Linked DNA regions of Homo sapiens: region 2 is linked to region 1. Evidence: promoter capture Hi-C in human tissues and cell types (Jung and others, 2019). All regions are on one chromosome and are shown on one strand. Each heading gives the region's core, a stretch centred on a gene start or on the middle of the fragment in contact. The rest is flanking DNA. Distances are from core to core; before and after follow the strand shown. Region 1 holds the start of ZCCHC12 (zinc finger CCHC-type containing 12). Region 2 has its middle 39 kb from the start of IL13RA1.

Region 1 (5,271 bases), core at 1-2,500:
TCCTACCTGAATATCCTGCAGTACATTTTATATTTGCCCACTACCCTAAAAATAATCCTGTAGGAGATTGACACTTACAACCTCCCAGAGCTACCCGATGCCTGCGTGCTAGCAAGGTGCTTTTTGCAGCCACATCCATCCCTCCCACCAGTCCTCCAAGAGGGACGGTAACTGTTGCTTCAAATTCTAGGTGTAGCAGTGTCTGGAGCTGATATTGGGCTCTCCAAATAGAGTACAATGATCGCAGATTTGTGGAAATAAAATAAGATCTCATTAACCTCATGGTCTCTGGTCTCAACCACACCCCCTTCTCAAAGTGCCCCCCACGCCCGTCCCCCTTGTTATTTCTCAGATTCTTACACGAACTCTGAAACAAGAGCGCGTCTTTATTTCACTTCCAGCCTCTGCAACCAGTGCCCTCCGTGAGAAAGCTCCTCTCCGGGGTACGGTCAACCTCTGTCCACAGGGGGTCGCAGATCCGGGTCCTTGAGGTTTCAAGATTGCGCCACAGCGGAGAAGGCCAGAGAAGGGAAGGGTTAGAAGCAGCTTCACCCGTCATCCTGCTACCCACCACCTCCGCTGTTGCCAGGCGAAAAATTCTCTCTGCCCCCTCCTGACTATAAGCCAGAGACCAGCCCCCCACCCTCCAGCATTACATTTCCCCCGGGAAGCCGTCGGCCTACCAGCTCTGCAATCAGCTGCACAGAATTCAAGTTCAGATGCGGCTTTGATGGCCTGCCACGGAGAAAGGGAATAGGAGTTGGACACACCCACCCACATATTCCTCCCAGAAAGAGATGAGGAGATGCAAAGGATGTTCGAAGCAAACAGCTCGAGATTCCTCCCCCCGCTACTCCTCGCCTCTCCTCCCACCCCCAAATCCAGGCAAATCCTACCTAGCCCGCAGTATCCAGGTGAACCCCACCTCCTCCCTCAGCGCAGCCGGGCCACGAGAGTACTCCTACCCCTGCCTCACAGTCACCGATTCTCCAAGCTGGGAGCCGCCCAGTACTGGTGGGTCTTCCCCCACCCCTCTCCCCGCCGGGCAATCACACCCCCATTCTTTACCTGTGCTCCGCTGGTGGACAGCAGATGCTCCCGCGTCGCCAGCTGTGGATTCCGCCTTCTGGTCTCCGCCTTGCAGGCGGCAAAGAACTGAAGCCTCCTTGGCCGCTAAGCGACCCGGGGCTGCCCGAAGGAGCTGCTTCGCAGGGCCGCCCAACCAGGGGTAGCAGAGACGAGGCAGCGCCGTTCCTAAGGCAGCCGCGGCGGCTTTTATCCTCTGCCAGCTGAGACAAAAGAGCGTGACGAGCGGGCTAGTGCGGCCAATCAGCGAAGTGCGGGGGCGGACGCCCCGCACAGCCTTGGGCAGAGGCGAGTTTTCGCCTGAGGGGGCGGGGGCGCAGCAGGCCCGCGGAGCGTCAAGTGCAGCTTGATTAGACCGATGGAGCCAATCTGCCTGGGAATTTGCGACTCTTTCTTCCTCCCCCAACCCGTCCCTTCTCCCTGGGCTCAACTCTGCATCTTAGGCCAGGTGCATTAAACACGAAGTGGGTCCAAAATCAAGTGAATAATAAAAGTTCTTCACCTTGGTATAGGGAAAAGACGGGGAAGAGGGGAAGGGGCGGGAAGAGCATTAGCACGTGCATTGCGGAAACAGGCTTTCACACACATCTCCTCTTTTACTGTGAAAGAAGTAGCAGTATGTCCATTTAACAGAGAGGAGAGCTGGAGAACAAGGCTCTCAACCAATACCCATTCAAGTATGGGGGCAAGACATCAGAGTCATTTGGGGGAGCTTGTTAGAAATGCAGTCTTCTGGCCGGGAATGGTGGCTCACGCCTGAAATCCCAGCACTTTGGGAGGCCGAGGCGGGCGGCTCACGAGGTCAAGAGATCGAGACCATCCTGGCCAACATGTTGAAACCCCGTCTCTACTAAAAAGACAAAAAAAAAAAAAAAAATCAGCTGGGCATGATGGCGCGTGCCTGTAATCCCAGCTACTTGGGAGGCTGAGGCTAGAGAATCTCTCCAACCTGGGAGGCGGAGGTTGCAGTGAACCAAGATCGCACCGCTGCACTTCAGCCTGGCAAGGGAACAAGACTCCCTCTCAAAAAAAAAAAAAAAAAAAAAAAAAAAAAAAAAAAAAGGAAAAGAAAAGAAATGTAGGCTCTGGGCCCCAACTCTGGTGGATTCAGATTTACTAGGACTAGCGGTTGTGATGTGGTTTTGTATTTAGTATTTTTAACCGGCGCTGCGGTTGGTTCTGAGTTGTAGCAAGGTTTGTGAATAAGTAAATGAGCCTGTCTCCAATATCTGTCCACAGGTATCTGTGGTGAAATGCAACTCCAGAGCAGATGTGCCTACCTGGAATCCATGATCTTCCTGAAATTGTATGCAAAGATTTCGGACTCTGTATGAAGCTAAATAATGGCCACCCAAATGTATCAAGTCCTAATCCCTGAAACCTGTAAATGTTACCTTATAAAGTAAAATGGTCTTTGCAGGTGTGATTAAGTTAAGGCTTTTTGACTTAATTTTCCAGGCAGGCTGAAATCTAAACCACAAGTGCCCTTATAAAAGAGGGAGAGTTGGTGCACCAAGAAGAGAAGGCAATGACCAGAGATTAGTGATGTGGCCATAAGCAGAGGAATGCTAGCAGCCACCAGAAACTGGAAGAGGCAAGGAATAAAGCACAGTCCTACTGACACCTTGAATTCAGCCCAGAGAAACAGATGTTAAGCTTCTGGCTTCTAGAACTGTGAGAAATTAAACTTCTCTTGTTTTAAGCCAAGTTTGTGATAATTTGTTACAGTGCTGTTTTAGTCTGTTTGGGGTGCTATGGCAAAATACCATAGACTGGGTGGTTTATAAACAACAGAAATGTATTGCTCATAGTTCTGAAGGTTGGGAAGTCCAACTTCAAGGTGCCAGCAAGGTTGGTTTCTCCTGAGGCTTCTCTCCTTGGCTTGCACATGGCTGCCCTCTTGCTTGGCCATCCTCTCTGTGCATATGTGCCTCTGGGTTCTCTCAGTGTGTCCAAATTTCCTCTTCTTATAAGGACACAAGTCAGATTGGGGCCCACCCTAAGGGCCTCATTTTTACCTTAATAACCTCTTTAAAGGCCCTATCTTTAAATACAGTCACACTCTAAGGTACTGAGGGTTAGGATTACAATGAATTTGGGGGAACATAATTCAGCCTGCAGCACTCCATTTTCCCTTACTTCTGGTTCTGGGAAAGCAAGCCTTCCTTCTCTCATGTAAAGTGTGGTTAAGAGACTCCTGTGGGAACTTTGGGGGGTCAAGACCAAGTGCACTTGGACTGCCCAAGTGCAAAGGAGTTGCTTGTTCTTGACTCCTGATGTTTGGAAGTGAGTGAACAGTCTGATGCTTTTCAGCTGCTGTTAATTTCAGCTTCAGCCTGCCAAGGTACTTTACCTGCTTCTTTCTGCCTTCTTATTTCCAACTCCAATACCTAGAATTCCTTGGAGTAAACAATCTACATTTAAAGACAAAGCACCTTCATCTCAGGGGCATGACCTTTCTCTTGTGGATGGAACACTGGAATGGTGGTGGTGGTGGGTGGAGGATTTTGGAGGTGCAGAGAAGGCAGGTTGCTTACTTCACACAGTCGGGGGTGATGCTGGCAATAGCTTAGGGGTTTTCTTCAGACTCTTGCTTCTGCTCCCCAATACTATGACATCTGACCCTGGCCTCTAAGCAGAATCGTGTTCTACATTTAAATTGGCTTCATCGCCAAATCAGGTGTTCTGCAGTTGGACCTGGTGGCATCAGAAAGGACAAAGACTGTGTCTCAGAGCTGTGCAAAAAATTTTGATTGTGTAAAGTTGCCTGGGTTGCATCATCAGAACCAAGCGGAGGTCTCTTCATATAGGGCTTGGAGGAGCATTTGCTAAACTGGCTCCAGTTGGATACAGAGCATACCTTATCTCTGGCCTCATATTATAGGAGAGGGGTTGGGGGTAAGGGGGCTTCCAATTACAAGAATTCTAGCTCTGGTGGTTCTAAGGAGGCCACATTTCATTTTCCAATTGCAAAACAAAACAAAACAAAAACACACACACAAAAAACCCTTAAAATCCTTAAGATTCAGAGCCAATGCCTTCAGTTGAAAGAATAACTCCCTTTAGTTGCCTTCAACCTCTGTGCCAGGAATTTTCCATCCTTATCTCATGTAAGTGTCTCATCAAACCTATTCAGATAGGCATTGTTATTTCACCAAGGTTTCTGAGAGCATATGGTCACTTCAAACTCGGGCTTCGGCTCAGGGATATCAAAGACTGGATGGGGGTGCTTATGGGAGATGCTGCACATATTAACCTGGCATTCTAAGGGCAGCATCACTCAAAAAAGTTTTCAAAAAGAGGATAAAATAGTTATTTTTAGACAAACAAAACAGAGAGTTTGTAACCAGCAAACCAAGCTAATGGAAATTCTGAAGTATGTACTTCAGGAGGAACATGACCTTAAAAGAAATAAATACAGGAAGGAATGAAGAGCAAAGGAAGTGGTAGTACGTGGGCAATGTAAGAGAACATTGGCAGAAGAAGAAATCAGAAAAACATCTATTCTTCTTTTTAAAAAATAAACTTAATGTATCATACAATCAGAAAAAACGTCAGGAGGGGCTTAAATGGATTTCAACTTTTCTAAGGGCCTGGTATCGTATTGGAAGTTATTTAGGTATTTATTAAATTTATATTCTGATAAGGTAATTATATATCTAGTAATTAATAGTATGTGACTATTAAAATAATAGTAACAGGATGTAAATTTCCAAGCTATCAATAGTAGGGAGGGGAAAAAGTTGAATAATCAACACAAAATTTTCAATTTTTTTTAAATCAAGAAAGAAATATAAATGGGACAAATAAAAGCACAAAATAAAATTAAGCTTTAAACCCAAATATATGAATAATTTTATTAAATGTTTATGATCCACAACATCAAAAACCCCAAGTAATCCCATTTAAAAGTGGGCAAAGGATCTGAATAGACATTTCTCAAAGACATACAAATGGCCAAGAAATATATGAAAAAAATGCTCAACTAATCATCAGGGAAATGCAAATCTAAACCACAGTGACCCCAGTTAGCATGGCTATTATCAAAAGATAAAAATTAAAAATTCTGGCCAGGATGCAGAGAAAAGAAAACTCTTATACACTGTTGCTGAGAATGTAAATTAGTACAGCCACTATGGAGAGCAGTTTGGAGGTTCCTCAGAAAACAAAAAATAGAGCTATCAT
Region 2 (5,271 bases), core at 1,112-3,611, 130 kb after region 1:
CATGGCGAAACCCCAATTCTACAGAAATTAGCCAGGTGTGGTGGTGTTCATCTGTAGTCCCAGCTACTTGGGAAGCTGAAAAGGGAGGATCGCTTGAGCCCGGGATGGGAAGGTTGCAGTGAGCTGAGATCGCACCACTGCACTCCAGCCTGGGCAACACAGCAAGACCCTGTCTCAAAAAAGCAAATGGTCTAAGGACTTAAAAGAGATATTTCTCTGAGGAAGATACAAAAATGGCCAGTAACCACATGAAAGAATTCTCAACATCATTAGACATCAGGGAAATTCAAATGAAAACCACAAAGAGATACTACACACTTGCTAGGATGGCAATAATCAAAGAGGCAGATAATAACAAGTGTTGTCAAGAATATTGAGAAACTGGGACCCTCATACATTGCTGGTGGTAATATAAAGTGGTGCAGCTGCCGTGGAAATCAGTCTGGCAATTCTTCAAAAGGTTAAACATGGAGTTACCATATGAACCAGTCATTCCACTTCTGTGTACATGCCCAAGAGAACTAAAAACATGTCCACACAAAAACTTGTGAGTGTTCACAGCAACATTATTCACAGTAGCCAAAAAGTGGAAATAACCCAAATGTCCATCAACTGATGAGAAGATAAAATATGGTGTATCTATATAATGGATTATTATTTAGCCATAAAAAGGAATGAAGTACTGATACATTCTACAACATCGATGAACTTTGGAAATATGCTATGTCAAAGAAGCTGGACACAAAAGGCCACATATTGTATGACTGCATTTATATGAAATGTCCAGAACAGGTAAACCTTGTAGGGACAAAAAGTAGATTAGTGGTTGCCAGGGGCTGGAGGATGATGACCGGTAGGAGTGACTGCTAATGAGTATGGGGTCTCTTTCAGGTGATAAACATGTTTTAAATTGTAGTGATACTTGCACAACTCTGTGGATGTAATTTTAAAAAACACTGAATTGTGTACTTTAAATGGGTAAATTGTATGGTATGTGAATTATATCTCAATAAAAAGGAAAAACAAAGCAAAAAAAAAGAACATTGGAAAAGTTTTAAAATGCTATGCACAGAGGCAAAATCTTAGAACTTAGCCACGACTCCCATTAGGAGATGAACAAACATAGATACACTGTTTTTAGACAGTGACCATTAAGTGCTTAGAAAAAAAAAAAAAAGATAAATAAAGCACTCTTACTCACCAACTCCCAAGACAGGGGTATAGCCTTGTTACACAAACCCACTCCCCACCCACAACCAACTTTTACTCCTTTCCTCTCCTTGTCTTTTGATAGCTGAACTAGTGTACTGTTAGAACAAGACTGAGACTAAAGGTAGCCCAACATTTTGGAGATCAGAAGCCCAAGACATATGTCTAATTATCAATGTTTTGAAGAGTTTGGAAATTCCTATTAATCCATTATATCACTCAGGTTCTTCATCTCAGAGAAAGCTAATATCTCATGGAACAAACCTGCACATGTACCCCCTGAACCTAAAAGTTAGAAGAAAAAAAGATACGAAATAGTTTTTTAAAAATGTGCGTTCTTATTATCATGACTTATCTAGTTTCTTAATTAGAGTCATCTCTAGTTCTAGGATGATGTGTTGTTGGTCAAGGTTCCAAGGACATTACTACCACTGCTGCTTTCTGTTTCACTTTTGAAAATATATAATATTTTGATAGGCAGCCAAATCATATAAATACGGTAACAATAACAATCCCATCTATATACATGATGCCAGTGGTGACAACTGGTTACTAGGAAAATTTCCATGGAATTTCTTATTTTCTCTATGGTTTTTCACCGTAGTGATAAACTAACACTACCAAGGGTGACTTAATCACATTTCACAGTATGTCCAAAGACTATCAAAACAACAACTTCTAGGGGAAATTGGACTCAAGCTTAACTGCAAAACAATCAGTATAGGAGAAATGTATTCTTTGGTGTTAATTAATTTGTAGAGGACAAATCACTTCAAGAAATCATTAAACTATATACACTTTAATGCCTAATACATGTAGTGTTTAAAAAACAGATTTACCTAGCTTTCTCTGTTCGAGCCCACCTTGTTCTCTACAGCTTGCTACCTTTAGTCTGAGAGTTGGAAAAATAAATCTAGTGAGCTTGTGCCATGACATGGCAAACTCCCTGGCCACAGGACACAAAATTATCTTTCACATTTCTTTTTTTTTTTCCCTTGGCCATCCAATGAGTCTTACCTAGTCCTTCCATATATGTCTCTGGGACTCGTCCTTTCTTCTCCATTCTTGTCATATCACTCACATCTAGAGGTTTATTGAATTTAGTTTATTGCAATATCTATGTAACTGGTTTCCTAATTTCCATGTCTCTCTACCTCAAATACATCTGGCAGCAATATAAAAGATTAAATTTCTAAAAATAACATTTAATTAAGTAATCTGTTTAAAAACCTTGGCTAGCTCTCTCATGCCTATTGAGTAAACTCCAAATACCATTAGCCTGGTATTCAGCGCCTTCCAAAATCTCAGTCCGAATGTATTTTATTTCTTTTTTCTTTCTTTTTGTTGTTGTTGTTGTTGTTGTTGTTGACAGAATCTCACTCTGCCACCCAGGCTGGAGTGCAATGGCATGATCTAGGCTCACTACAACCTCCACCTCCCGGGTTCAAGCGATTCTTGTGCCTCAGCCTCCCAAGTAGCTGGGATTACAGGTGTGTACCACCATGCCTGGCTAACTTTTTTTTGTATTTTTATTAGAGACAGTGTTTTACCATGTTGGCCAAGCTGGTCTTGAACTCCTGGGCTCAAGTGATCTGCCTGTCTCAGCCTCCCAAAGTGCTGGGATTACAGGCATGAGCCACCACGCCCAGCCTGTATTTTCTAGATTTATCATCTACCACCTCTTGGACAAAACTGGTCTCCTTACTATCCCCTGAACCTCCACAAATTCTTTTTGCACCTTTGCTTATGGTGTTCCTCCTGCCTAGAATACCCCTCTCCATTTTTGGAAGCCTGTTCAAAGCTTAACTTTTCTTCACTAAACCCTCCCTGAACATTTACAATTCACAGTGATCTCTTTCTTTGAATGTGATTTGAGTTATGAATGCTGTCGTTCATTTGGCAATACTCACATATGACTTCTCCTGTCTTACATTGTTAATTCTTGTACTATTTAATTTTGTGCGTCTTGCTTTCTCAACTAGACTGCGAGATCCTTGGCAATAGGGGCCATTTATTACATTAAAAAATCTACCCACAGTGCATATTGCTGTGCTAGGGGCTTTGACAGGGACTAGTTACAGACAGAAGAGTGCTGGAGTCTCCTCAAGATGCCAAACTCTCAGAATGCAGCATTTACTAGAGGTGATGATTCCTCACACATACATATCAAATATAATCACTTTAAAGGTGAAACTAACTCTACAGGTTACTCTAAGATATTAAGGAATTACAAACTGCCTTGGAAATACTTGTAAAAGTCCCCTATTAAAATACAAAATTAACTTTTAATAAATAAGTTCATGCTCTCCTGAAAGCTTAAAAATGACATATAAAGAAAAAATGGGCTGGACGCGGTGGCTCACGCCTGTAATCCCAGTACTTTGGGAGGCTGAGGCGGGTGGATCACAAGGTCAGGAGTTCGAGACCAGCCTGAGCAGCATGGTGAAACCCCGTCTCTACTAAAAATACAAAAATTAGCTGGGCGTGGTGGCACCTGCCTGTAATCCCAGCTACTCAGGAGGTTGAGGCAGGAGAATCATTTGAACCCGGGAGATGGAGGTTGCAGTGAGCCAAGATGGCGCCACTGCACTCCAGCCTGGGTGACAGAGCAAGACTTTGTCTCAAAAAAGAAAAAATGGTACCCCCCAAAAAATAAAAATAAAAATGGTCAGGCCAGGAGCATAATCTCTAGGATTTACTTGATCACAAAGTGCTCAAAAAGCCAAGGCCCCGTGCAATCCATTTATATTTTAGTGACTGTTTTTTCATCTGTAAAAGAGGCTAAACCACATAAGGAAAATAAGTGTAGGCTGGGCAAAGTGGCTCATGCCTGTAATCCCAGCACTTTTGGCAGATCACGATGTCAGGAGATCGAGACCATCCTGGCTAACACAGTGAAACCCCGTCTCTACTAAAAAAAAAATACAAAAAATTAGCCGGGCGTGGTGGCAGGCGCCTGTAGTCTCAACTACTCGGGAGGCTGAGGCAGGAGAATGGCGTGAACCAGGGAGGCAGAGGTTGCAGTGAGCCAAGATCGCGCCATTGTACGCCAGCCTGGGCGACAGAACGAGACTCCATCTCAAAAAAAAAAAAAAAAGGAAGTCTAGAACCCGAGTTCCCATAGAAGGCAGCCAAAATGATTTGGATAATTCAAGCTAAAAAATGTCATTCACATCTTGGTTTCTCCTGAATTATTTAGGCAATCTGAGATTTCTTCATAGACAGAAATATAATCCCAAGCTAGTTTGCCAAATCTGTGGTGGTTTTCTACATTGACCCAAGACATGCTGCAACCATTAAGTTCTAATCAAAATGTTTATTAATCTTGTAACTGAAGAAAATAATCATTACAAAACTCCTACCTCAGATTGCTGTAAAAGCTTTGAAGTTCTGTGGGATGTACTGACTGCAATCTCAGAAATGTTTTATCTTTGTAGATGGCCCCAGATGATAAAGCTTTGGCAACAAATGCTGCTTGCCCTGTATAAATCCCTTAGATGTCTTGTATGTAGAAGGGAGACCTACTAGATTACCTAGCGTCATCAGATCATAACATATATATATGGTATCTCAAGCTTACTATTATATATATGTTATATATACAGAGTCTCACTGTCGCCCAGACTGGAGTGCAGTGGCGTGATCTCAGCTCACTGCAACCTCCACCTCCTGGGTTCAAGCGATTCTCCTGCCTCAACCTCCTCAGTAGCTGGGATTACAGGCATGCACCACCATGACCAGCTAATTTTTGTATTTTTAGTAGAGATGGGGTTTCACCATGTTGGTCAGGCTGGTCTTGAACTCCTGACCTCATGATCCGCCTGCCTCAGCCTCCCAAAGTGTTGGGATTACAGGCATGAGCCACCGTGTCCAGCCTAAGCTTCGTATATTTGTAAATATATCCTTTCCTTTTGAAATTTTCTGTGAAATAATGCTTTTGGTTCCTTTAGCCCAGCCTTGACTACTAATTGGCAAGGATTCAAATGATCTCCCCAATTTTAAATATCCGTGTATTACGGAAATGTTATCAATTTTCTTCTCCTCCTACCAAGGATTAGTATG

The links. The method cuts DNA at HindIII sites, captures the fragments that hold promoters and counts their contacts. A contact is called where the count stands out against the background at its distance.
Region 2: a fragment that was not itself captured here is called in contact with the fragment with the promoter of ZCCHC12 in region 1 in 4 of the 25 tissues and cell types used here (adrenal gland, dorsolateral prefrontal cortex, mesendoderm cells and 1 more).

The regions. Positions count from the first base shown.
Region 1 is chrX:118,819,803-118,825,073 of GRCh38, reverse strand. It overlaps ZCCHC12 (zinc finger CCHC-type containing 12), which reads right to left and starts at 1,250. Exons shown (of 4, transcript NM_173798.4): 1 at 1,069-1,250; 2 at 684-735; 3 at 361-485. The HindIII fragment of the contact is 10,215 bases long and covers 1-3,829 here.
Region 2 is chrX:118,686,213-118,691,483 of GRCh38, reverse strand. No RefSeq gene overlaps it. Among named protein-coding and RNA genes, the nearest start is that of IL13RA1, 39 kb to the left of the region's middle. The HindIII fragment of the contact is 5,152 bases long and covers 1-4,937 here.